Regions from separate parts of the Homo sapiens genome. Here regions 1, 2, 3, 4, 5 and 6 are each linked to region 7. Evidence: promoter capture Hi-C in human tissues and cell types (Jung and others, 2019). All regions are on one chromosome and are shown on one strand. Each heading gives the region's core, a stretch centred on a gene start or on the middle of the fragment in contact. The rest is flanking DNA. Distances are from core to core; before and after follow the strand shown.

Region 1 (3,254 bases), core at 58-2,557, 500 kb before region 7:
AGGGACACACCAAAAGACCACAACAAAGCAGCCCATTTATGCAGAAAACAAAGAACAAATTATTTGCTACATAAATGACTTGCATTCATTCCCCAACTACCTTTCCAGAAATTATCTGGAGATAACTATTAATCAGTTCTTCTCTAATATAATTTTCAAAAGTTTGTGAAATGTATTATAACTTTTAAAGATTTTCCCTTCACCTGGAAAAAAAAGCCTCTCAAATTTGATTATGGAGCGGAGAACAACCAAGTACTGATTCTCCAAAGCATCACCACCACATGCCCACTTTTCCAGGACGATGTGTCATGCAATAAGCAACAGAAGGAAAAGACTCTTATTTAAAAGAGAAAATCCAGTGTATTTTTCAGCCAGAGAGAACCTTGTGAGGATTATTTCCCCAACACTAAGGCAGCACAGGCTCTACTCACCTCATGAAGTTGCTGACAGAATCAAAGTAAACAGACAGTAAGAGGCTTAGTTCTGTTCTCTGGATCTCCCTTCATAAGACACTCCACACAGGCCATCCAACAAATAAATAATAGCAATTTATTCTTAAAAGTGACTCAATTAAAAAAAAGAGAGAATGAGGCTGTGAAAAACTTTGCTGGGAAAATCGCTGTTCTGAGAGGCACGTGCCCGGCCATGTCCTAAACTCCAGGGAGGCTTCCATGAAAGCAACCCTAAGTCTCCAGGTCCCAGCTTCCTCCCAGGTGTTTGGATTGGCTTGCACGTATCTTATAAAATTCTGAATTAAACGGTCAACATCGAAAAGTCTGAAGGTATCACCAAAAACCCAGATTCCCCACTGCTCTTGACACATTTAGGATGTGGCCACACCAGGTCTATATCCCATCAGGTAAAGCTGGCTCAGAGCTGGGCAGGGGCTGTCCTGAGAGGACCCAGCACCCATGCCCTTCCATCCAGCTCCTCCCTTCACGCCACCTGCCTGACCCCACAGATGGGGGCTTGCTACTCCAACGATCTTAAATTCTTCTCAGGTCACCCCCTCACCCTACACTTCCCAGGACCTGCTGAGGGCAGGTTACGAGTAATCTCTATAGAGCACATTCTGCTTGAGAACACAGGGGTCTCAGGCAACCCGCAGCACAAAACCAGCTAAAAGGGCATTTCCAGCAAATTCTACAGGGCTCCCGGCCATGGTCTGCAGTGCTCTGCTGGCCACAGCCTTCCAGGAAATTCTCATACAAGGAGGGCCATCCTGAAGACATTCTGTACTTCCCCATCACCAAGCTTTCTTCTATCCAATTAAAAGGCCAGTTACAGTCAACTAAATGCCTTGAGAACACATATGATTTTAAGAGACAGAAGCAGAAAGACAATGACAATTTTCCCAAGAATGTCCACAGTAACTGTGGCTGCTGCAGTTGTCTTACTGTTTGCCAATCAAGGAAAGCTGAAATCTAGAAAGAAACGAGGCCAGGCGCAGTGGCTCATGCCTGTAATCCTAACACTTAGGGAGGCAGAGGCTGGTGGATCACCTGAGGCTGGGAGTTCCAGACCAGCCTGACCAACATGGAGAAACCCCGCCTCTACTAAAAATACAAAATTAGCCGGGTGTGGTGCCACGTGTCTGTAATCCCAGCTACTCGGGAGGCCGAGGCAGGAGAATCGCTTGAATCCAGGAGGCGGAGGTTGCGGTGAGCCAAGATCATGCCATTGCACTCCAGCCTGGGCAACAAGAACGAAACTCTGTCTCAAAAAGAAAACGTACGGGTATTGCCTTCCCACTGACTTCAAAAACAAAAACAAAGGGCAAACAGAAAAGCAAAGCATTCCTTCCATCTAGGAGGGGTCATTCCTATAGTTTAAAAGCTTAAAAGTACCAAGTTTATGTGGTAACTTCCAAATTTGTCTTTGTAAAGAACAAAGCTATCTATTTTACATCCAACACATAGCCAATGATACCAAGAACATATACAAAATACATTTCCATAAGGTAGAGGTAAAAACTAATAGCCTGAGAGCTACTGGATTCTGACTTCTCTTATTTACTTGTAAATCCTACCGTCTCAAACCTAGATGGTTGACAATCCCAAGACTGAGTGTACAAATTAAAGCCATGTTCTAAAGCCACTTCGTCCTAATTAGCACCCCCACTTACAGCAAAAGCAGAGAAAACATCTACAATGAAATTCAAAGTTACTATCTTCTGCTCCTGTGAGCAACCTCTAAAAAAGTATTCAATGGGAGCAGAGTCAAATTAAGGATTACTTGTAGATTTTACATATCTGTGCTATTGCCCCATCTGCCACAGAGATCTACGTTAATTATAAGGCACATCATTTAGGACAGGCATGGTGGCATAAGCCTGTAATCTCAGCACTTCGGGAGGCCAAGGCAGGCAGATAGCTTGAGCTCAGGAGTTTAAGACAAGCCTGGGCAGCACAGCGAAACCCCATCTCTACAAATATGCAAAAATTAGCCAGGCACAGAGGCACACACCTGCAGACCCAGCTGCTGAGGAGGCCGAGGTGGGAGGACTGCCTGAGCCCAGGAGGCTGAGGCTTCAGTGAGCTGAGATCACACCACTGTGTTCCAGCGTGGACGACAGAGCAAGACCCTGCCTCCATAAAAAATAATTCAAAACTCTGAGGCATGGATGAATATGAGTTTGCAGGCAGATTCCCCCATGTGGTCAGGACACATGAATATGCCACTTCTGTACATCACCTGTTGCAGTATTTCTTGTATTAAATTCCAGTGATCCACTCTAAATGTATGTCCTTTTCAATGTCATCCATAACTTTAGATAAGTGATTTTCTTTTTTTTTCTTTTTCTTTTTTTTTTTTTTTAGATGGAGTCTCGCTCTGTCGCCCAGGCTGGAGTGCAGTGGCGCGATCTCGGCTCACTGCAAGCTCCGCCTCCCGGGTTCACGCCATTCTCCTGCCTCAGCCTCCCGAGTAGCTGGGACTACAGGTGCCCGCCACCACGCCTGGCTAATTTTTTTGTATTTTTAGTTGAGACGGGGTTTCACCGTGTTAGCCAGGATGGTCTCGATCTCCTGACCTCGTGATCCGCCCGCCTCGGCCTCCCAAAGTGCTGGGATTACAGGCATGAGCCACCACACCCGGCTGTGATTTTCTTATTGTTTGTTCATATTAAAAGGATCATTTTTAGATTGTAGAGACAGAGAAGGCATTAAATAATGTGACAATTTTCATTAGTTACATCCATCTTCATAATCCTGCCATTTAAATTTTTGTTTCCTCGATGCTTTCATCTGAACAGT
Region 2 (2,980 bases), core at 425-2,924, 370 kb before region 7:
GCATACACAGTAAGTTCTAAATATTCTTAAATTTTCATGATGATTGTTAATTCAACTCAAGAGTTCTTCTATATTGTGTTTCAGTTTCAAAATACATCTCTTTTTTTAAAAAATTCTAACTTAATTGAATTGTGGACAGAGAATGTGGTCTGTATGATATTAGTCATTGGAATTTGCTGAGACTTCCTTTATGGCCCAGTGGAGAATGGTTTTTTTTTTTTTTTTTTTTTTGAGACGGAGTCTCACTCTGTCAACTGGATGGAGTACAGTAGCACAATCTTGGCTCACTGCAACCTCCACCTCCTGGGTTCAAGTGATTCTCCTGCCTCAGCCTCCTGAATAACTGGGATTACAGGCACCTGCCACTATGCCTAGCTAATTTTTTTTTATTTTTAGTAGAGACGGGGTTTCACCATGTTGGCCAGGCTGGTTTCAAACTCCTGACCTCATGATTCACCTGCCTCAGCCTCCCAAAGTACTGGGATTACAGGCGTGAGCCACCACACTGCAGAATTGTTTTTTAAAATGTTCCACATGTGCTTGGAAGTGTGGCCCTCTTCACATCTCTAGGGTTTGCTTTGCTTCGAATTCTGGTTGCCCATTTCTCTGGGTCCCTGGCCTTCTTGCCTGATGCTCACTATCTTGAAAATGTTTCATATGTTTTGGTTTTTCCTTTTGGGTTTTTTTTCCTCATGGGATGGTTAATCTTGCTCTTGTTAGTTCATCTTGGTCAGAAGTTGAAGTCTCCTATTTGCCTTTCATTTTTGAAAGATTATTTTTGCTGAAATAGAATTCTAGCTTTAAAGGCATGTTGTTTTAAATACTTTAAAATGTCGCTGTATTATCTTCTGTCTTGGATGGTTTCTAATTCAAAGTTTGTGATTTTCTTTTTGTTCCTCTGTTTGCAGTGCCTGTTTTCTCTGTTTTTCCAGCAGCAGTTGTACTATGCTTGGTCTAGCCAGTGTTTATTATTGTTGTGGTTATTAGTATTATTAGCAGTGGTTGTCCTCCTGGGTGTTCTCTGGATTGTGGTTTGGTGTCTTCCATGAATTTTAAATATTCTTGGACATTAACTCTTCATGTTGTGGGAAGTCAGGGATCCCGAACAGAGGGACCGGCTGGAGCCATGGCAGAGGAACATAAATTGTGAAGATTTCATTTTAATATGGGCATTTATCAGTTCCCAAATAATACTTTTATAATTTCTTATACCTGTCTTTTAATCTCTTAATCCTGTTTTCTTCATAAGCTGAGGATGTATGTCACCTCAGAACCACTGTGATAATTGTGTTAACTGTACAAATTGATTGTAAAACATGTGTGTTTAAACAATATGAAATCAGTGCACGTTGAAAAAGAACAGAATAACAGTGATTTTTAGGGAACAAGGGAAGACAACCATAAGGTCTGACTGCCTGCGGGGTTGGGCAAAAAGAGCCATATTTTTCTTCTTGCAGAGAGCCTATAAACAGACATGCAAGTAGGGAAGATACCGCTAAATTCTTTTCCTCGCCAGGAATATTAATATTAATACCCTGGGAAAGGAATGCATTCCTGGGGGAGGTCTATAAACGGCCGCTCTGAGAGTGTCTGTCTTATGCAGTTGAGATAAGGACTGAAATACGCCCTGGTCTCCTGCAGTACCCTCAGGCTTATTAGGGTGGGGAAAAACTCCACCCTGGTAAATTTGTGGTCAGACTGGTTCTCTGCTCTTGAACCCTGTTTTCTGTTGTTTAAGATGTTTATCAAGACAATACGTGCACAGCTGAACATAGATCCTTATCAGTAGTTCTGTTTTGCCTTTTGTCCTGTTCCCTCAGAAGCATGTGATCTTTGTTCTGCTTTTTGCCCTTTGAAGCATGTGATCTTTGTACCTACTCTCTGTTTTACACCTCCTCCCCTTTTGAAACCCTAAATAAAAACTTGCTGGTCTGAGACTCAGGCAGGCATCACGGTCCTACCAACATGTGATGTCACCCCCTGGCGGCCCAGCTGTAAAATTCCTCTCTTTGTACTCTTTCTCTTTATTTCTCAGCCGGCTGACACTTATGGGAAATAAAAAGAACCTATGTTGAAATATGGGGAGCAGGTTCCCCCAATATCTTCAAATATTTCTTCTGCTGATTTTCTTTTCTTCTGGGATTCCAGTTACACATCTGTTAGCATGTCCGATAATTTCCCAAAGCTCTTACATGCTCTGGGTTTTTTGTGTGCTTGTTTTAAAAATCCCTGTTCCTGTTTGTGCCTTGCTTTTGGTCACTCCTATGGCCCTATCTTCATGTTTGCTGATTCTTTCTTTGCCTCTGCAGAATCTCCTGAATTCTTTGTTCACCTCTGCAGAACTCCCCATCTCTGCTATCACGCTTTTCAATTCTCACCTTGCCACCTCATCCTTCCTCACAGGCTCCAACACCTCTGGATCAAAGAGTGGGGTGTGGGGTGTCCTAGAGGTCAGAGGAGCCATCTTTTTGCCTTGGACCTTGCTGTACCACCCATTTCTAGGTGTAAAACTTGTGAAAAGCTCAGCCATGCTGGCATCGCTGGTCCCGACTTCTTTTGAAATAACTCTGAAAGCTACTTGAGAATGTACACAAGCCATGGCAAAGGAAAGGTCCCAGTGACACAAGGAGAATTTTTCACCACTGTGGAAGATAGTATAGCAGCTCCTGAAAAAATTAAACCTAGAATTATCATAGGATTCAGCAATTCTGCTGTTGGCTAAATGCCCAAGAAAACTGAAAGCAGACTCAAAAAGATCAGTACACCCATGTTCCTAGGAGCATTATTCAAAATAGCCAAGAGGTGGAAGCCACCCATGTCCACCAACAGAGGAATGAATAAACAAAATGTGGGCCCTTCATGTCATCCACCCCATGGATAACAATGGGGTGTTATCCATCCTCAACAAGCAAAGATGCTCTGACATGTGCCATAGCACAGATGAAACTTGAGGATGTTACGCTAAGTGAAATACACCAGC
Region 3 (3,226 bases), core at 288-2,787, 490 kb after region 7:
TTGGAAAGAAGGACGACTTTGGATGTTTATGTTATGTGGTGTGTAGCTTGTCGGTTGATTTTTACTTTCAACTAATGCAACTTTGAGAAAGGCACTGAACACTAAGTAATCCTGCCTGTGATCTCCAAACTGTCTGCCTTATGTTTTTAAATCAGCTAACAATGGTTACTGAATCTACCCAATTCGTATGGTAAGGCTGCACTGAAGTCCACATGCTGTAAAGTAAATAGGTTTTCTTGATTTCTTACAATGGTTATGGGTTGTTGTTTTTTTTTTTTTTTTGAGACAGAGTCTCACTCTGTCTCCCAGGCTAGAGTGCAGTGGCATGATCTTGGCTCTCTGCAACCTCTGCCTCCCAGGTTCAAGTGACTCTCCAGCCTCAGCCTCCTGAGTAACTGAGATTACAGGCGTGCACCACTACACCCAACTAATTTTTGCATTTTTTAGTAGAGAAAGAGTTTTGCCATGTTGGCCAGGCTGGTCTCGAACTCCTGACCTCTGGTGATCTGCCCGCCTCTATCTCCCAAAGTGCTGGGATTACAGGCATGAGCGAGCCACCGCACCCAGCCCAAAAAATACTCTTGAAAGACATTTCTCATTAAAGCCCACCATCACCCCATGATGGCCCAAGGGAGGCTAAGCATCTTGCATGAGGTGCACACTGTGGACTCTGCCCACCCACATCTCCTAATGGTCTCTAAAGAGGAAGACGTCTTGGAGGCTCCATCACAGAATCTCAGCACTGAGGCTGTTGCTAACAAGAGAGTTCCATTGATTGAGCGAAATTATAACCAGTTCAGTGAAAAACACCTCGCTATTTGTTACTCTATTTACCCAAGAAATTATTTGGCATTAAGTACATATAAAGGATTGTGCTAGGAATGAGATATAAATATTTCCTGCCCTCAAGAGTTTAAAACACAGTAGAGCAAAACCACCTGAAGTAGTCGTTGCTATCTGTTTCCAGACACTCACTGTGGACTTGCGCAAGGCTGGATGCTGCTTAGATTTATTATGGGAAGTGGCTCATAGGATTATAGAGGCTGAGGAGTTCCATGATCTGCCGCCTGCAAGCCTGGGAACTCAGGACTCCTGAAGTGTAACTGGGTCCAAGGCCAGCGGCTGGAGAGCCCAAGGGGCTAGTGGTACAAGTCCCTGAATCTGAAGGCCAGAGAACCCAGAGTTCTGATGTCCAAGGGCAGGAGAAGATGGGTGCCCAGCTCCAGAAGAGAGAGAATTGGCCTCTCTTCTGCCTTTTTGTTCTATCCGGGCCTCAACTAACAATGACACCTGCTCACCCTGGGTGAGGGCAGATCTTCCTTACTGTCCATGTATTCAAATGCCCATCTCTTCCAGAAACACACCCTCAAAAACACATCCAGAAGTCATGCTTTACCAGCTCTCTGATTATCCTGTGACCCAGTCAACTTGGCACCTAAAATTAGGCATCACGGGCCAGGCGTGGTAGCCCATGCCTGTAATCCCAGCACTTTTGGTGGCCGAGGTGGGTGGATCACCTGAGATCAGAAGTTCGAGACCAGCCTGGCCAACATGGTGAAACCCTGCCTCTACTAAAAATACAAAAATTAGCCAGCGTGGTGGCGCACGCCTGTAATCCCAGCTACCCGGGAGGCTGAGGCAGGAGAATCCCTTGACTCAGGCAGTGGACTTTGCAGTGAGCCGAGATCGTGCATGCACTCCAGCCTGGGCAACAGAATGAGACTCCATCTCAAAAAAAATATATATATAGCCATCACAGTTGGTCACCAATTCCTTCCTCTGTTCTTTACTGCTGCCTTTTGCCTGACTGATGTTCCTCTTCTGTAGGGTGAAAGAGGCCTCCCGGGGTTACAAGGTGTCATTGGGTTTCCTGGAATGCAAGGACCTGAGGGGCCACAGGGACCACCAGGACAAAAGGTAAGCACGGCTGTGGGATTGGGGGTGGGTGGATGTAAGATTGCCCGCATTCTTGAGATAGCGGTGATCAATGACAATGGCATTTCTATTCTGTTCCAGGGTGATACTGGAGAACCAGGACTACCTGGAACAAAAGGGACAAGAGTGAGTACAGTTGCTACTCACAATCGATGATTCCATGCGTGGGACAGGCCCGCTTCCAGAGCCGGGCACCTTTTCCCTCCTTTCTCCTTGCCCTCGTCCTCCATCTCCTCTCCCAGCTCACACAGCACGGGCAGGCAGGCGCGAGGCAGGCAGTGAGGAGCAGCCCGTGACTCCCTGAGCCCCAGTCCTTCCCATGGGGACTGTGCACAGGCTGAGCTCCTTAGTCCTTGGTTCTGCAAACTTGCTTTCCCCCATTTGTTCTTCTTCAGGAATCTCTTCTGGGCATTTTTTAATTTGGGGGAAGGGGCAATTGATGATGTGTCCACAGTCATTAGACAGAGATGACTTCATTTAATGGAAAAGTCATGGTATTTTCAGAGCCAGCCTTGCTCTTCCTCCTCTCCACCTCTTAGTAATGATGAAATGGGAGCAGAGTTATTTTGTGCATGGGCAGCCTTATGTTTGAAGGGATCAGCAGTCAGCTTTTAAAAACTTATTTTTTTGTTTTTTTTTATTTCAATTTTTTTTGGTACAGGTGGTGTTTGGTTGCATGTATAAGTTCTTTCGTGGTGATTTCTGAGATTTTAGTGCACCTGTCACCCAAGCAGTGTACGCTCTACCTGTTACGTAGTTTTTGATCCCTCACCTCCTTCCAGCCTTCCCCCCACCTGAGTCCCGAAGTCCATTGTATCACTCTTATGCCTTTACATCCTCATAGCTTAGACGCCACTTATACGTGAGAACATACGGTATTTGGTTTCCCATTCCTGGGTTACTTCACTTAGAATAATGGCCTCTAGCTCCATTCAAGTTGCTGCAAAAGACATCATTTTGTTCCTTGTTGTGGCTGAGTAGTGTTCCATGGTGCATGGATTCCACCTTTTCTCTATCCACTCGTTGGTTGGTAGGTACTTAGGTTGGTTCCATATCTTTGCAGTGGCGAATGGCAGTAGTGTGCTTTGGGTGTAGCATTGCTCCTGTAAGCCTGGGCCATCTGCCCTAGGCTGTGCCCTCTGCTGCCTCTTGTGCAGAGTGCTCTGTCTGCTTTGTGTGTGTTCTGACACCAAAAATGAGGGCATGACTCCATTAACCGGGGAGATGCAGGAGGAGGAAGTGAGGCTTCCCGGCTCTTCACTGACACGCTTTTACTTCCGCCCTCACAGGG
Region 4 (3,049 bases), core at 187-2,686, 480 kb before region 7:
CGATATTAGTGACTTTGCCTCACCCCACTTCCAAATTCATAGGAAGTGTAGAAATTCAGGAATATCTTCCACAGAATAAAAACAGCAAAGCAAACTACATCACAAAATAGATCGTGTGATATGTCTAATATATAACACAATGTACATTATGAAAATACTTCATATAATAAAGATCCTGTGTCAGAACCTTTCCACTACAAGCAAGTAAACCCAACTCAAATTGGCTTAAACAAAAAAAGGAAATTATTGGTTCGCACAACAAACAAGTCAGGAATGGCAAGAGCCACAAGCTCAGAACCGGAAGGCTTTCTCCGCTCTCTTTCCTACTCTCCTGAGTGTGCGCCACAGTTTCAGGAACGGTCTCCCTCATCAGGCAACAGGACCACTGGCAGCCCCAGGCCCACACCACCAGGTCAACACCTCAGATGCATCTCGCTGGACCCAGAGCCCACCACGTGAACCAATTTCACAGCCAGTGAAGCAGAACAAGGAGAGCTGTCCAAGGAGCCAACAATAACGGACACAGCATTCTGGCAAACCCACACATAAACATGTATTAATAATTTAGAGCACAAAAATTCAGACAGTCCCCCAGAGCTAAGGGACACCACTGTAGCACTAGGGCCACACAAATGCACGCAAAAGGACACACTGACCAGCTCTATTCCAGCCCAACTGCTTTCACACCACCCTCCCAATACCCACACCAACAAGCACAGCAACCTTAATCAACCCCGTCAGTACTGACACGAGAGCAAAAGAATGCCTCCTGCCTCCATGGTAGCGCTGGCTGATGCACCTCTACGTAGTAGACCCCAAAAAGACCAGACCGGGAAATGGGGAAAGAAGTAGTCGTCTTTTTGCTTCTCCTCACTTTCCACCATCTCAATACTGACGGAGAGGCCTCTGCAATGTGGGACTGAGCGCACACTTTCTGGGCTCACTGAAGCTTTAGTGGTCTGCGTTGCCACCAGTCAGCTCGCCTCCTCCAGGAACTTGAGAAAGTTATTCTTGACACAAGAAATTGTTATTTTTAGCACAGCTCTGGAGTGTGGTTTGCAAAGTTTAAAAATATAATTTTGTCCTATCACTGTCAAATGGAACTTGTGATTTCAGAACAAGAGTAAAAAATGAATCTTAAATAAGTGGTGCTATTTAAGTTTAATGCAAATGGTCCATATTGTTGGGGACATGTGAAAAACAGAAATCCAGCAGTACGTTTTCACTTCCTGGCTTCTGCAGATTTTGTACTTAATCCCACCCACTCCTACACCCCAGGGGTAAAATTAAAGTCTGATGACGGATGCTATCAATTACGGCACTTTCACCCAACATGCACCCAAATGATTTATTTCACTTTAAAATGAAAATCAAATCTTATTCAATTTTGTGGATTCCACTGTATCAACACCCAAACACTAGGACAGAGAATACATCTTCAAAAAAGAAGTAACCAAGTATTTTAGGTAGTTTCCAGGAAGGGGTGAGAGGAGCAGAGCAGGGAGGCAGGAGCACAGCAACGGGAAGGCAGGCAGGGCTCTTCCCAACAAGATGCTCTCTGCCTTCTGCAGACCGGGCGCAACCTCCACACGAGGCAGGGAAGCGCAGCCCCAACAGGCAGGGGAAAGGAAGGACACCTCCCTGCTTAGGACCACGGCATGCTGTGCTGGCCCACACAGCCCGTACCTCAGTGTAGACTGCATGCCAGTTTATCTTACAGGCAGAAAACGAAAACACACACACACACACACACACACACACACACACACACACACACGAGCTCCCAAAAGACAGTGTGACAAAGCTTACAAAGGCAGAACCAAGATCGGAGCCCACCAGCCTGGCTTTGCCCACACCACCACACTGCCAGCCAGGAAAGGACACCAGAGACAGTGGTGTCCCACAGCGGTCATGCAGGCAGATCAGGCAGCACCCAGGGGAGGAGGGGTGGTCTCAGACACAACTCACCACGTACACACACACAGCAGCCCATACAGCCTACACAGGCCCCCAAACTTCTGTCTTCGACTGCTAGGAGCACATGCCTGCAAAGAACAGCCTGGCTGTCGCCAGAAAGTGAGCACATACCACAAAGAAGGATCTGGGCAGATGCAACACACTGGCTTGGGCTAACAGTAAGTGAAGCAGTAACATTTACAGCTATAAAGGCAATGCGCCCATTCCATTAACTTCAAAATGCAAGCAGTTACAAGACTCCAGTTTTGAGAAGTTTCTCAAGATGGCCCACTGCAAACACCTATCTAACTCCCATCCCTCCCAAGGTGCCACCGAAATGAGAGAAAGAAAAAGCTTCAAAAAATTAACAGAGAAAGAACCCGCTGTAGTGCTAAAAAGGGAAAGGCTATGAGCAGTCTAAACAGGGTTTGAGGAGATCCCTGGGGACAGGACGCAGATGGACTCTGAATGACCTAACAGTTCAGAACAGCACTTGTAAGGGAGCCCCAGGAGCACCAAAGACGGTTTTCTAACACAGGAAGGGACACGTGACCCACCTCAGGACTTCAGCACGACAGCCCCTTCTTCCTGATGGGAAGCTCAGCACCCAGACCCCTCTCTAATTAAAAAGAAGCTGCTGCCTGCACTGGATTCTAACCGGAGGTGAAGTGACCCTCTCTAATTAAAGAGAAGCCTGCGGCCTGCACTGGATTCTAACCGGAACCTGATGCACCACTAGGCCCACACAACAGTCTCTGAGGAAAAAAAAAAATGACAATTCTACCCAGAAGCGAAATCCCCTGGGAGCTCCACCACCAGCCTGGACTATCCCCCATCTGAAGTGTGACACAGGAAACAGGTGCAGAGAAAGTGTCTCCCTCAGCTCTGCTCGTGTAGCTGCTTCTAGAGCCCTCCATCCGGTTCTCCCCACCTGCTCCCAGACACACAACCCGCACAGTGAAGCCCACGGGGCCGGTAACCCACACACAGGACTGCACAGTCCCCTCCGCTCTGATGCCAGTCAACTGGGCTTTTATTCACAAACAGGAAGAACCCATCAAGGCCACACCTGATAGGAAATAACAGCATAGCA
Region 5 (3,382 bases), core at 883-3,382, 450 kb before region 7:
ATAAATGAACAGCAACTGTGAAACCTGCAGATAATTTTAGTATTAGTTGCAGTGCCAAGGAGCTGGAAAGATCAATTATTAATATATTAGGGTTACCATCCCTATCATATCAAACATAACTATTCCAGAAATGGTCTATGACAAGAAAGAGCTGTGGTTTCCTTACACTTGACAAATTGGCTTTATTCCCTCTTGGCAACTATGAGAACAGGCTCACCCAGTTTCATCTGAAATGTTTTGTTTTCCTTTCAAGTAGTGATGGTAACACTGTATGTGAGCCCACAGTCAATTCTTAAGCAAAAAAGCCTCATTAATATCAAACTATCCATCAAGATTACCCTTTTCTATTATGTATGAATATAGCTAAGTATCAAGAACAGTAGACATCTTTCTTTCAAACAGAACTAAGTTAAAATCCATAGCTTTATTATAATAATTTTGTTGCTAATATTCCTGAAACCACGTTATTAATGTGAGCTTAATAATGTATCAATTAACTGGAATCTTATATCCTTAACTTTCAGCTCTTGAAATAAAAAACTGGTAAACATGTTACAGGCGTGATGGCTTTAACCAAACAAGCTTTCTCCTAGGAACATAAAATCTGCTTTTGCCAGTTACATTTCACCTGCTTCCCTAGTTGTCAGATGCCTAATCAGACAATGTTGCATAGGGTGGGAACATCTTGGAAGCTAATTCATTGTGACCTTTTCAGTGAACAAGCATGTGCACACACACACATGCACACATACACATCCTACAGTAGCTACAACACTTGAATCAGAATTCCACAGTAACATAGCAAAATACTGGAAACAGAAATCACTCTGAATTTCTCTGTAGCTGTTTACCTAAGAAAATGCAAAGAAATGTCCTATCACTTGCTTGGTTTGCCTCAGTAAGTTACTTATCCTCAAGTGAAATTCTACAAACATCATCATCATCATCATTTTTTTTTTCTTTTTTTGAGACGGAGTTTTGCTCTGTTGTCCAGGCTGGAGGGCAGTGGCGTGATTAGTAGAGATGGGGTTTCACCATGTTGGTCATGCTGGTCTCAAACTCCTGACCTAAGGTGATCTACCCGCCTCAGCCTCCCAAAGCGCTAGGATTACAGGCATGAGCCACTGCACCCAGCCAACATCATCATTATTCTTATTAATAATTATTATTTTGGTTGCTTTTGAGATACAAATAGAAATTGTGTGCCTAGGGGTTTTTTGCCCTAACTGGAAAAAAAAAAAAAATTTAAGCATGCCAAGTAAAAAAGTTATAAGAAAATGAAGTCATCCAAGTTGCACTGCTTTCCAACAGTAATTAAATTTTTTTAATTTTCCAAATTTCAAAGTTTTCCAGCTTAAAACCCAGTGCTTCTCAAAGTTTACCAATAAATGCGACTCACACAATATTCCTTTAAAACCAATTTATAAAAATATTTTCATAATCAAAACAATTGGGGGATAATATCTGATTTTCTACAGGTAATTAAGGAGGGCATGCACCAAAACAGCTGACATATTAACCAAGTTTACTTCCTTTTTCCCTTTAACAAATCTTAGCAGAGCTTAAACTGACAGTAAATAAGAATATATACACCAAAAACAATCTGTTACAAACACAATTCAGTCTAAACTAACCCCTGGAAGAAAAGCACCTTGACATTTACAACTATAGAACAAAAGCTAATCTAGAATTTAAGCTATTAGTTTTAAGTTTTGTGTCTGTAGTTTCAAAACATTTCTTATCAATTTCCCACCTTTCAGAATTTTGTGAAAATGAAATGTGTAAATCCCACAACATATTTCACAAGTGCAAGGCCCTTCCCTCCTGACTCCCTAAGCAATTCTTAAACACTGGGAAATTGCTGCACTGTGGCCCGCATGGGAGATGACCAAGTCCTTCAGGGCCCAGCCCTGTCCCTTCACATCACCTTACAAGGCTGGAAGCCAGAGCTGGATGCATAGCATACAAAATGACTTCTCAGGGTAACTTCCCAAAAAACACAATGACTGAACAATTTATCAGGTTTTTCATGTGCTGTTTTCATATTTTCATTTTTATTATCTCCTAGGTAATTACAAGTGTGACTCACACTAAGCTTGAAGAATGCTAACATTTGCCTCTTGCTTAAATTTACTGGAAGAGATATTTACTCTTTAAAAATAGCACAAAATAAGTCAAAACTAATTTTTTACTTTAAAATGAAACTCACTTGCTATCACTTACAACCTCAAGTTCATTCTATTAGTAACAAATATTTATTGAAAGCCTATTATGTGCCAAGCACTATTGTAGATGCTTGGAATATGTTAGTGAAAACTCTCTTCCAGAAAACCTTCAAATAAACTCTTAATTATAAAAACAATAGTTACTGTATGAAATGTCAGCAACCTTTGGAAAACTAAAAACGGTAAGTTTTTAACATTCAATTTACTTTTTTTTTTTTTTTTTTTTTTGAGGGAGTCTTGCTCTGTCACCCAGGCTGGAGTGCAGTGGCAATCTCAGCTCACTGCAACCTCTGCCTCCGGGGTTCAAGGGATTCTCCTGTCTCAGCCACCTGAGTAACTGGAACTACAGGTGCACGCCACCACGCCGGGCTAATTTTTGTTTTTGGGTTTGTTTAAGTATAGACAGGGTTTCACCATGTTGGCCAGGCTGGTCTCGAACTCCCGACCTCATGTGATCCACCCGCCTCGGCCTCCCAAAGTGCTGGGATTACAGGCGTGAGCCACCACACCCAGCCTCAATTTACTTTAAAACAAAACTTTTTTAAAAAGTTTTACACTAAAGTCAGATAATCTTAATGTGCCAATTGAGTTTCAAAAGTATGTTAACGTAAACAAAACTCAGTAGTTTCAAGAGGATAATATAATAAAATCCCTCACAAAGGTGAAGAAAAAGTAAAACCTGCCACTAGCAAGGCATATTATCACAGCCAATAAGGCAGCTGGATTACAAATGACAAAGCTGATACGACAAAGGGTATCAGGGAAAGACTACTGAAACACTGTCTTTTTCCCCTTTGAAAAGGCCCTAAGTTTCTTGGAATCTCCCCTAGCACTTTCACTTACGTGTAATAATTTCCTTGCCAACATGAAATACTACCAACAATAAATTTCTTTGTGTTTACAATCATAAACAACGCCAGTAATACTTTAATCTATGAATTCCTACATGTCTAATTCAATTAAATAAACTTTCCATGTAACCTGCCCTCACAGATTTGATGTTCTAGGTTTTCCGAGAAACCTATAGCAAAATATTCTTCGGGAAGGGAAACCTCTGTTGGGTTATCCTACATAACAGGTTCTACAAAGATGCTTTCATATACAGTTGTCCCTTTTTATCAGCAGGGAATTGGTTCCAGGATCCCGGTGGATACCAA
Region 6 (3,453 bases), core at 635-3,134, 460 kb after region 7:
GGTATTCTTCGGTTCAGTTAAAAAGGCATTCTGTAAACAGAATGAGTGAGCTTTCCTCTTTTTGCATCCTCTGGAATGGAATTCACTGTAATCTTGAGAAGAGCGCCCTCTTGGTCTGTAGATGCGAGAAAACCAGAAATAGGCTTTATTTCTTATTAAAACCATTGACTTCTCTTCCTCCCCTTTCTTCTTTGGCACTCGTACTGTGTATTGTAAAATCTTTGTGTATTTTAAGAACTTAATATACTTTATAACGTGAATACTGATGGTGGATCTCTGAATATCTTAATTGGAGCATGAAAGAAAAGTTTCACAGTATTAATTATTTTAACATATCCTGAAAAGTTTAAGAGACTTTTAGAGAATATAAAAGATATTTGGTTTAGGGATTACTTTGTAGTACCTTTTGCATTCCTTTCATATTGTATTTTTTGTTTTCGTTTAAAGCTGATCTCTGCTATTGAAGTTATGTGTGCGTGTGTGTGTCTGACAGAGTCCACTGGGGACTATTATTATTATTTTCTTTTCTGTTTCAAACACAGTTAAGTCAGTTTGGCTTCCATTTGGAGACAACTTATTATACTCTGTAGGCCACATGGTCTATGGGGAAGAGGCTAAAAGGACTTTCAAAACTGACTTGGTTTTCATTAAGTTTGTCTACAGTTTTAGGAGTATAAATAATAAATTCACCCCCAACCCCAAGAGCTTTCTAGGGTCCTCTTTTTCCACATTGGTCTGGGGTACCTGTGTTGCTGTTGTCCATGGCTGGTCTGCTTTTATAAGAGAGACCGAGACCCCCGCCTTTCTTTCCTTTGAGAACTCCCAGCCATATTCCCCGTCTTCCAAGTGGAGACTGCCTTCGTGACCCACTTTCATCCTCATGACCACTCGGGTTAAGTGTGTGCCTCACAGGAGCACAACACAGGCATTGCTCCAGGAACTTGGAACTCATTGACCCTAGAACACCAATGAGGGGAAAACCAGGAAGAGGATGAGTACCGCACAGAATGTACCAGTTCTTCCCATTCTAGAATCTGAAACAGATGGTATGGGAGCTTATCTGTAGGGTCATCCAGACACCGGGAGAATGCAGAGCCCTCATAAAGGCCCTCAGATATGCAGCCAGCAGGGAGCCGGTGGAGTCCACCAGTCTGCATATAGCTTTAGATTTTTCTGGGAGTCCAGATGCAAGGTGTATTTCCTCAGGAAATGATGAAATGGTGACATAGCTTTTCACATGTCAGGTCACCAATGAAATTGTGAACCTGGGTAACCTGCATTATTTATGTACCCCTTTTAAACACAGTAATTTACAACAGTGAATTAAGACTTGCATTACCTGACTTTTATTTTAATTCACCATTTGAAGCTTATACATTACACCTGAGTGAAGGGGGTACTCAGGTCATCCTTTGTATTTTTTTTTTCTTTTTAGCAGTGAACCATTGAACTGCAGCTAAAATACCTTCATATGCCAGGGTGAAACCCAGCACGGGCCCTTATATGACAGAAAGGACCAGAATAGTGATATTTTAAAATAGATTTTATTTAACAAAGTAAACATACATCTTAGGATATTTGTTTGTCATTCTTGTCATTCTAAAGGCTAGCTTTTTTGTTTTTTTTTTTTAACAAAACCATTTACATAAAATGCTAGGCCACCCAGAATGTGACACAAAAATCATGATCTTAGACATCTTTTGTTCTGAAAAGCTAACCCTAATTTAGATATTTTTGGAATGATCAATTTTTTAGAATTGATAATCAAATTCCCTACACACATAAAGCCATGCATGTTTTTGGTCCAGGATTAAAAAAAATTACTTGCTTATGAAAAAGCGTAAGGTGGTGGGGGAAGGCCGGGGTCGGGGGTCAGTCCTGTCTCATCTCTGATTTTCCCCAGTGTTCCTTAGTACCTGAAGTGGTCCCCAGGGTAAAACTACCCACCCGCCTGTCACCGGCACCGGCTGGGGGTGTTTCTGTACCAAAAGCACAAGAAGCGTCTTGACCCGAGGGTCCACAGTCACAGCCTTGCAGCCTCTTATCTGCAGTCCCAGGCAATGGAAGCATTCACGGATGGCTTAAGGGCCCAGTTCCAGGAAATTCATTTTTATAACCTCCCTCAAATTGCAGAAAGATAAAGCTTCTGAGATTTTATCAACCTTTCAGAAAACTCCAGATCACCAAATAGCCATTTTCAGCTTCAATCCCTTAAATCCCTGCTTAATCTGCTCTTTCCCAGAAAGCAGCAATTGACTCACAAGTCGAAAATCCACACTACTTCAGGCTGGTGTTGAGTTTCTGCCAGCTAAGCCCAGATGACTGCTGGACATTTCCTAAATGGACTCTGCAGATACATGAGACTTAGCCTGGTGGGTTTTCCTTTTGGTATCTGTAGGAGGGGGATGAAACACTGCAGAGTTTAAAGAACAGAGATGTGTTTCCAAACTTGGCTCAAACGCAAACAGGTTGTGGGCAGTGGCATAATCCCAGCAAAGAGGCTGCCCCGAAACTCCAGGGACTTGGAGATGACCTGGTGATGGAATAGCTGGTCTGGACGGCTCCAGGTGTCAGGTGCCAGATGCCAGCGCACTCCCCAGAGTCCCCGGCTCTTCCCTGGCTACTCTGTGATCTGGAGCAGTCAGGTAATCATTGCCGAGTTCCCTGTTTGGAGCTTTGTCCCACAGTGCTGTTGTGCACGAATGCACTGTGGTTGAGGTGCGCGGTGCCACTGGATTTCCATCTACAGTTGTTACTTAAGGTTGCTTAGATGGGTAACACCAGTAACAGCACCAAGAATACAACCATAATTGGGTACTGATTTCATCAATTCTAAGATGTGCATTTATTGATGTTTTAACAACTCTGGAATTGGGATAGATCTAACAATTGATAATGTGTCATTGTTTAATTAGTACCCTTCTTGATTTCTTAGTATGGGTTTTACAATTGGTGTCGTCTTAGATGAAGTACAGCTCACATCAGGCTCAATGCTACGGGAGCCTGGTGTGAGCTGTATGTGAGGCTGCCTCCAAAGCACTCAGGGTGTACCGGGGAGACACAGAAGTAAACAACGAGAAACGTGATAAGCCTGACAATAGAGACATGCAGTCAGCAATTCGCAGGAGCCAGGTAGGGAGCAGGTGACCCTCACCTGGGGATTAGACACATGGTAGTACTGGCTGAGTTAGGTACCTCTGGTGAGGTCTCTCAGTACTGGTATTTGTCCATTTTGGAAGAACCTCCTGGAGCACAGGTTACAGATTTTGGCCTCATCTCTTTGGATGCCTCTGAGTGGTCACCAAAACCCAGATTATGAAGCAAATCTGTGCACATGGATTGATTTAAAATGTTAGGAGGTTATGAGAGTGTAGGCTGAAAATTGCCTAAAATGTGAGTCAGAGAAAAACACAGACCTATCATCTCTGGAGTTTTTTTGGACTGTTGTCAGCT
Region 7 (3,017 bases), core at 309-2,808:
ACCAATAGAGGCACTTTTTTTTTTTTTCAGGCGGAGTCTCCCTCTGTTGCCCAGGCTGCAGTGCAGTGGTGTGACCTCAGCTCACTGTGAGCTCTGCCTCCTGGGTTCAAGCGATTCTCTTGTCTCAGCCTCCCCAGTAGCTGGGACTACAGATGCACGCCACCACGCCCGGCTAATTTGTGTATTTTTAGTAGAGACGGGGTTTCACCATATTGGTCAGGCTGGTCTCGAACTCCTGACCTCAGGTGATCCATCCGCCTCAGCCTCCCAAAGTGCTGGGATTACAGGTGTGAGCCACTGCGCCTGGCCCAATAGAGGCACGTTTGTCAAGCTATTGTGAGTAACTTTCAGAATGTTTTTGTTCTCAAGATACGGGATCATGGTGGGGGAGGCATGCTGTGTATTGGAGTGCAGACATGGTGTGTGTTGGGTTGCACACTGTGTATTGGGGTGCACACTGTATTGGGGTGTAGATGTGTGGGGGCGCACACTCTATTGAGGTGCACATTGCATTGGAATGCAGACAGTGTTTGCTGGGATGCACATGTGCTGTGTTGGGGTGCACACTGTACTGGGGTGCAGACATGGTGTGTGTTAGAGTGCACAGTGTATTAGGGGTGCACACTGTATTGGGGTGTACACTGTACTGGGGTGCAGACATGGTGTGTGCTGGGGTGCACACTGTATTGGAGTGCACACTGTATTGGGATGCTGATGTGGTGTGTGCTAGGGTGCATACTGTGTATTGGGGTGCAGACTGTATGCTGGGTTGCACACTGTGTATCGGGGTGCACTGTGTTGGGATGCTGATGGTGTGCTGCAGTGCACACTATTGGGGTGCAGATGTGTGTGCTGGGGTGCACACTGTATTGGGGTGCACACTGTATTGGGATGCTGATGTGTGTGCTGGGGTGCATACTGTGTATTGGGGTGCACACTTCTTGGGGTGCAGACTGTGTGTTGGGTTGCACATTGTGTATCGGGGTGCACTGTGTTGGGATGCTAACGGTGTGCTGCAGTGCACACTGTATTGGGGCGCAGATGTGTGTTTGGGGTGCACACTGTATTGGGGTGCACACTGTATTGGGGTGCTGACGTGTGTTCTGGGGTGGACACTGTGTATTAGCGTGCTGACGTGGGCTGTGCTGGGATGCACACGTGCTTCGCTAACAGGCCAGGGCCCGGCAACAGAAGCTTGCACTGTAAACGCTCCTCCCGCGCGGCGGACACAGCTCCAGGCTGGTACCGCGCGCACACGGACGCCTCGCAGGACCTGGGCTAATAAGGAGAGGAGATCGGCACGGTACCGCCTCTTCCCACGGCCTCCCGGCGCGGCACCGCCCTCCTCCCTCCACCCCGGGCCTTCCCCGCCCCAACCTCTTCGGGCCCTGGTTCTCCACCCTTGCCGCGGGCGACTCGAGCCAGGCCAAAGGGAGGCGCTACCTGAGGACTGCTTCCGGGAGTGGGCGTGGCCCCAAGGGCGTGGGCGGGGCGGGGCGGGGCCGTGCTGCTCTTGAGCGACCGGCAGCGTACCCGGCGTGGCTCCCGTCTCCGCCCAGTCGTAGGCGCTGGCCGCTGACATGTTGAGGACTACGCGCGGCCCAGGCCTGGGCCCCCCGCTGCTCCAGGCCGCGCTGGGCCTTGGGCGGGCTGGGTGGCACTGGCCTGCGGGCCGGGCGGCGAGCGGGGGGCGCGGGCGGGCCTGGCTGCAGCCCACGGGCCGGGAGACGGGTGTGCAGGTGTACAACAGCCTCACCGGGAGGAAGGAACCCCTAATCGTGGCGCACGCCGAAGCCGCCTCCTGGTGGGCCGCGCGGGACTGGGGCACGGGCGGGGGCCGATCGTGGCGGAGACTTCCCACGGCTGAACGGGATCTGGGCTCGGGGAGGGCGTTTAGGAAGCTGCATGGAGGGCGCCGTTCTAGAAGCTGGGGGTGCGCGGTGCTTTTGCAGGTTTGGGTGTGAATTGAGCAAGTATGAAAACCCCGGCTATTCATCCCCCAGAAGTGATTACTTTAAAAATTATATGATCATTATAACTCAGAATCGAATGTCCTTTCTTGCAAATATGTTCCACACGATGGATTTTAACTTTGTTTCCAGGTATAGCTGTGGACCAACTGTATATGATCATGCGCACCTTGGCCATGCTTGGTGAGTTTCCTGGATTTGAATTTTCATACTTCAAAGGACCATTTATTTTTGAAAGCCTTTTGCTGATTTCTTTTATCTCTTAAGTGGCAACTTAGGGATGCAGAATAATTCCTACATTCCAGGCATTGTGGGAAATGTTACAACCTCATTTGGTTCTTATAGGGATTCTGAGCACTTACACCCGTTTTACAGGTGAGGAAACTCAGGGAGACAATGGAGCACTGAAAAATGACCCGTTTTGGAACTAGATGTTTTTTGCTGGGTTTAGTGACATCAAGAGGCCTTTGCGGGGTCCCGGGGTCCTGCTGATCAGTCATTCCTGGGCCCCACCACTTCTTAGCTTCACAGCACTGAGCAGGTCACTTTATTGCTTTGAGTCCTGGTTTCTTCATCTTTGAGATGGGAATGATAACTTGGATCTTATAACAATTTTAGTAAATAATGCCCATAAAATGCTGCTTAACACTGTACCTCACATGTGAGATGTCACGGGGCTCAATAGTGATTGAGTAACTTTCCTAAGATGACACATTGAAGAGGTATTGGAACTGGGGTGAGGCTTGGTTTCTCTGACTGCGAAGTGGTTGCTCTCTTGACCTCTTTAACTGTAAGATGTACTGCCTCCTACATTTGCCAAAATTACCACTTTTCCTAATATTTTGTACATTTCCAAAATATAATGTACAAAAATGACATATTATAGATTTTTTAAAACTTAGTATTGTTCAGTCCTAGACTAAAAGTAAAAAGTTACATTTACTCTGTATACTTTTTTTTTTTCTTGAGACGGAGTCGCTCTGTCGCCCAGGCTGGAGTGCAGTGGTGCAATCTCGGCTCACTGCAACCTCTGCCTCCCAGGTCCAG

What was found. The method cuts DNA at HindIII sites, captures the fragments that hold promoters and counts their contacts. A contact is called where the count stands out against the background at its distance.
Region 1: a contact is called between a fragment that was not itself captured here and the fragment with the promoter of CARS2 in region 7, in 1 of the 25 tissues and cell types used here (dorsolateral prefrontal cortex).
Region 2: a fragment that was not itself captured here is called in contact with the fragment with the promoter of CARS2 in region 7 in 1 of the 25 tissues and cell types used here (heart left ventricle).
Region 3: a fragment that was not itself captured here is called in contact with the fragment with the promoter of CARS2 in region 7 in 1 of the 25 tissues and cell types used here (bladder).
Region 4: a contact is called between a fragment that was not itself captured here and the fragment with the promoter of CARS2 in region 7, in 1 of the 25 tissues and cell types used here (IMR-90 fibroblasts).
Region 5: a fragment that was not itself captured here is called in contact with the fragment with the promoter of CARS2 in region 7 in 1 of the 25 tissues and cell types used here (spleen).
Region 6: a fragment that was not itself captured here is called in contact with the fragment with the promoter of CARS2 in region 7 in 1 of the 25 tissues and cell types used here (H1 embryonic stem cells).

Annotation. Positions count from the first base shown.
Region 1 is chr13:111,206,524-111,209,777 of GRCh38, reverse strand. The region is part of intron 3 of ARHGEF7 (Rho guanine nucleotide exchange factor 7); the gene reads right to left. Among named protein-coding and RNA genes, the nearest start is that of ARHGEF7-AS1, 60 kb to the right of the region's middle. RefSeq lists an enhancer at 2,913-3,254. The HindIII fragment of the contact is 3,516 bases long and covers 1-3,065 here.
Region 2 is chr13:111,070,283-111,073,262 of GRCh38, reverse strand. No RefSeq gene overlaps it. Among named protein-coding and RNA genes, the nearest start is that of LINC00368, 24 kb to the left of the region's middle. The HindIII fragment of the contact is 8,666 bases long and covers 1-2,980 here.
Region 3 is chr13:110,212,617-110,215,842 of GRCh38, reverse strand. COL4A1 (collagen type IV alpha 1 chain) reads left to right here. Exons shown (of 52, transcript NM_001845.6): 3 at 1,828-1,917; 4 at 2,017-2,061; 5 at 3,225-3,226. Among named protein-coding and RNA genes, the nearest start is that of LINC03082, 85 kb to the right of the region's middle. The HindIII fragment of the contact is 5,934 bases long and covers 1-3,226 here.
Region 4 is chr13:111,184,690-111,187,738 of GRCh38, reverse strand. The region is part of intron 2 of ARHGEF7 (Rho guanine nucleotide exchange factor 7); the gene reads right to left. Among named protein-coding and RNA genes, the nearest start is that of ARHGEF7-AS1, 38 kb to the right of the region's middle. RefSeq lists enhancers at 2,510-2,769, 2,870-2,999. The HindIII fragment of the contact is 3,787 bases long and covers 1-3,049 here.
Region 5 is chr13:111,155,152-111,158,533 of GRCh38, reverse strand. All of the region lies in intron 2 of ARHGEF7 (Rho guanine nucleotide exchange factor 7), which reads right to left. Among named protein-coding and RNA genes, the nearest start is that of ARHGEF7-AS1, 8.3 kb to the right of the region's middle. The HindIII fragment of the contact is 3,840 bases long and covers 213-3,382 here.
Region 6 is chr13:110,244,322-110,247,774 of GRCh38, reverse strand. All of the region lies in intron 1 of COL4A1 (collagen type IV alpha 1 chain), which reads left to right. Among named protein-coding and RNA genes, the nearest start is that of COL4A1, 61 kb to the left of the region's middle. The HindIII fragment of the contact is 4,468 bases long and covers 1-3,453 here.
Region 7 is chr13:110,704,657-110,707,673 of GRCh38, reverse strand. CARS2 (cysteinyl-tRNA synthetase 2, mitochondrial) reads left to right here and starts at 1,558. Exons shown (of 15, transcript NM_024537.4): 1 at 1,558-1,804; 2 at 2,103-2,153. The coding sequence starts at 1,581. RefSeq lists enhancers at 631-750, 761-1,140 and a silencer at 1,191-1,750. The HindIII fragment of the contact is 14,015 bases long and covers 1-3,017 here.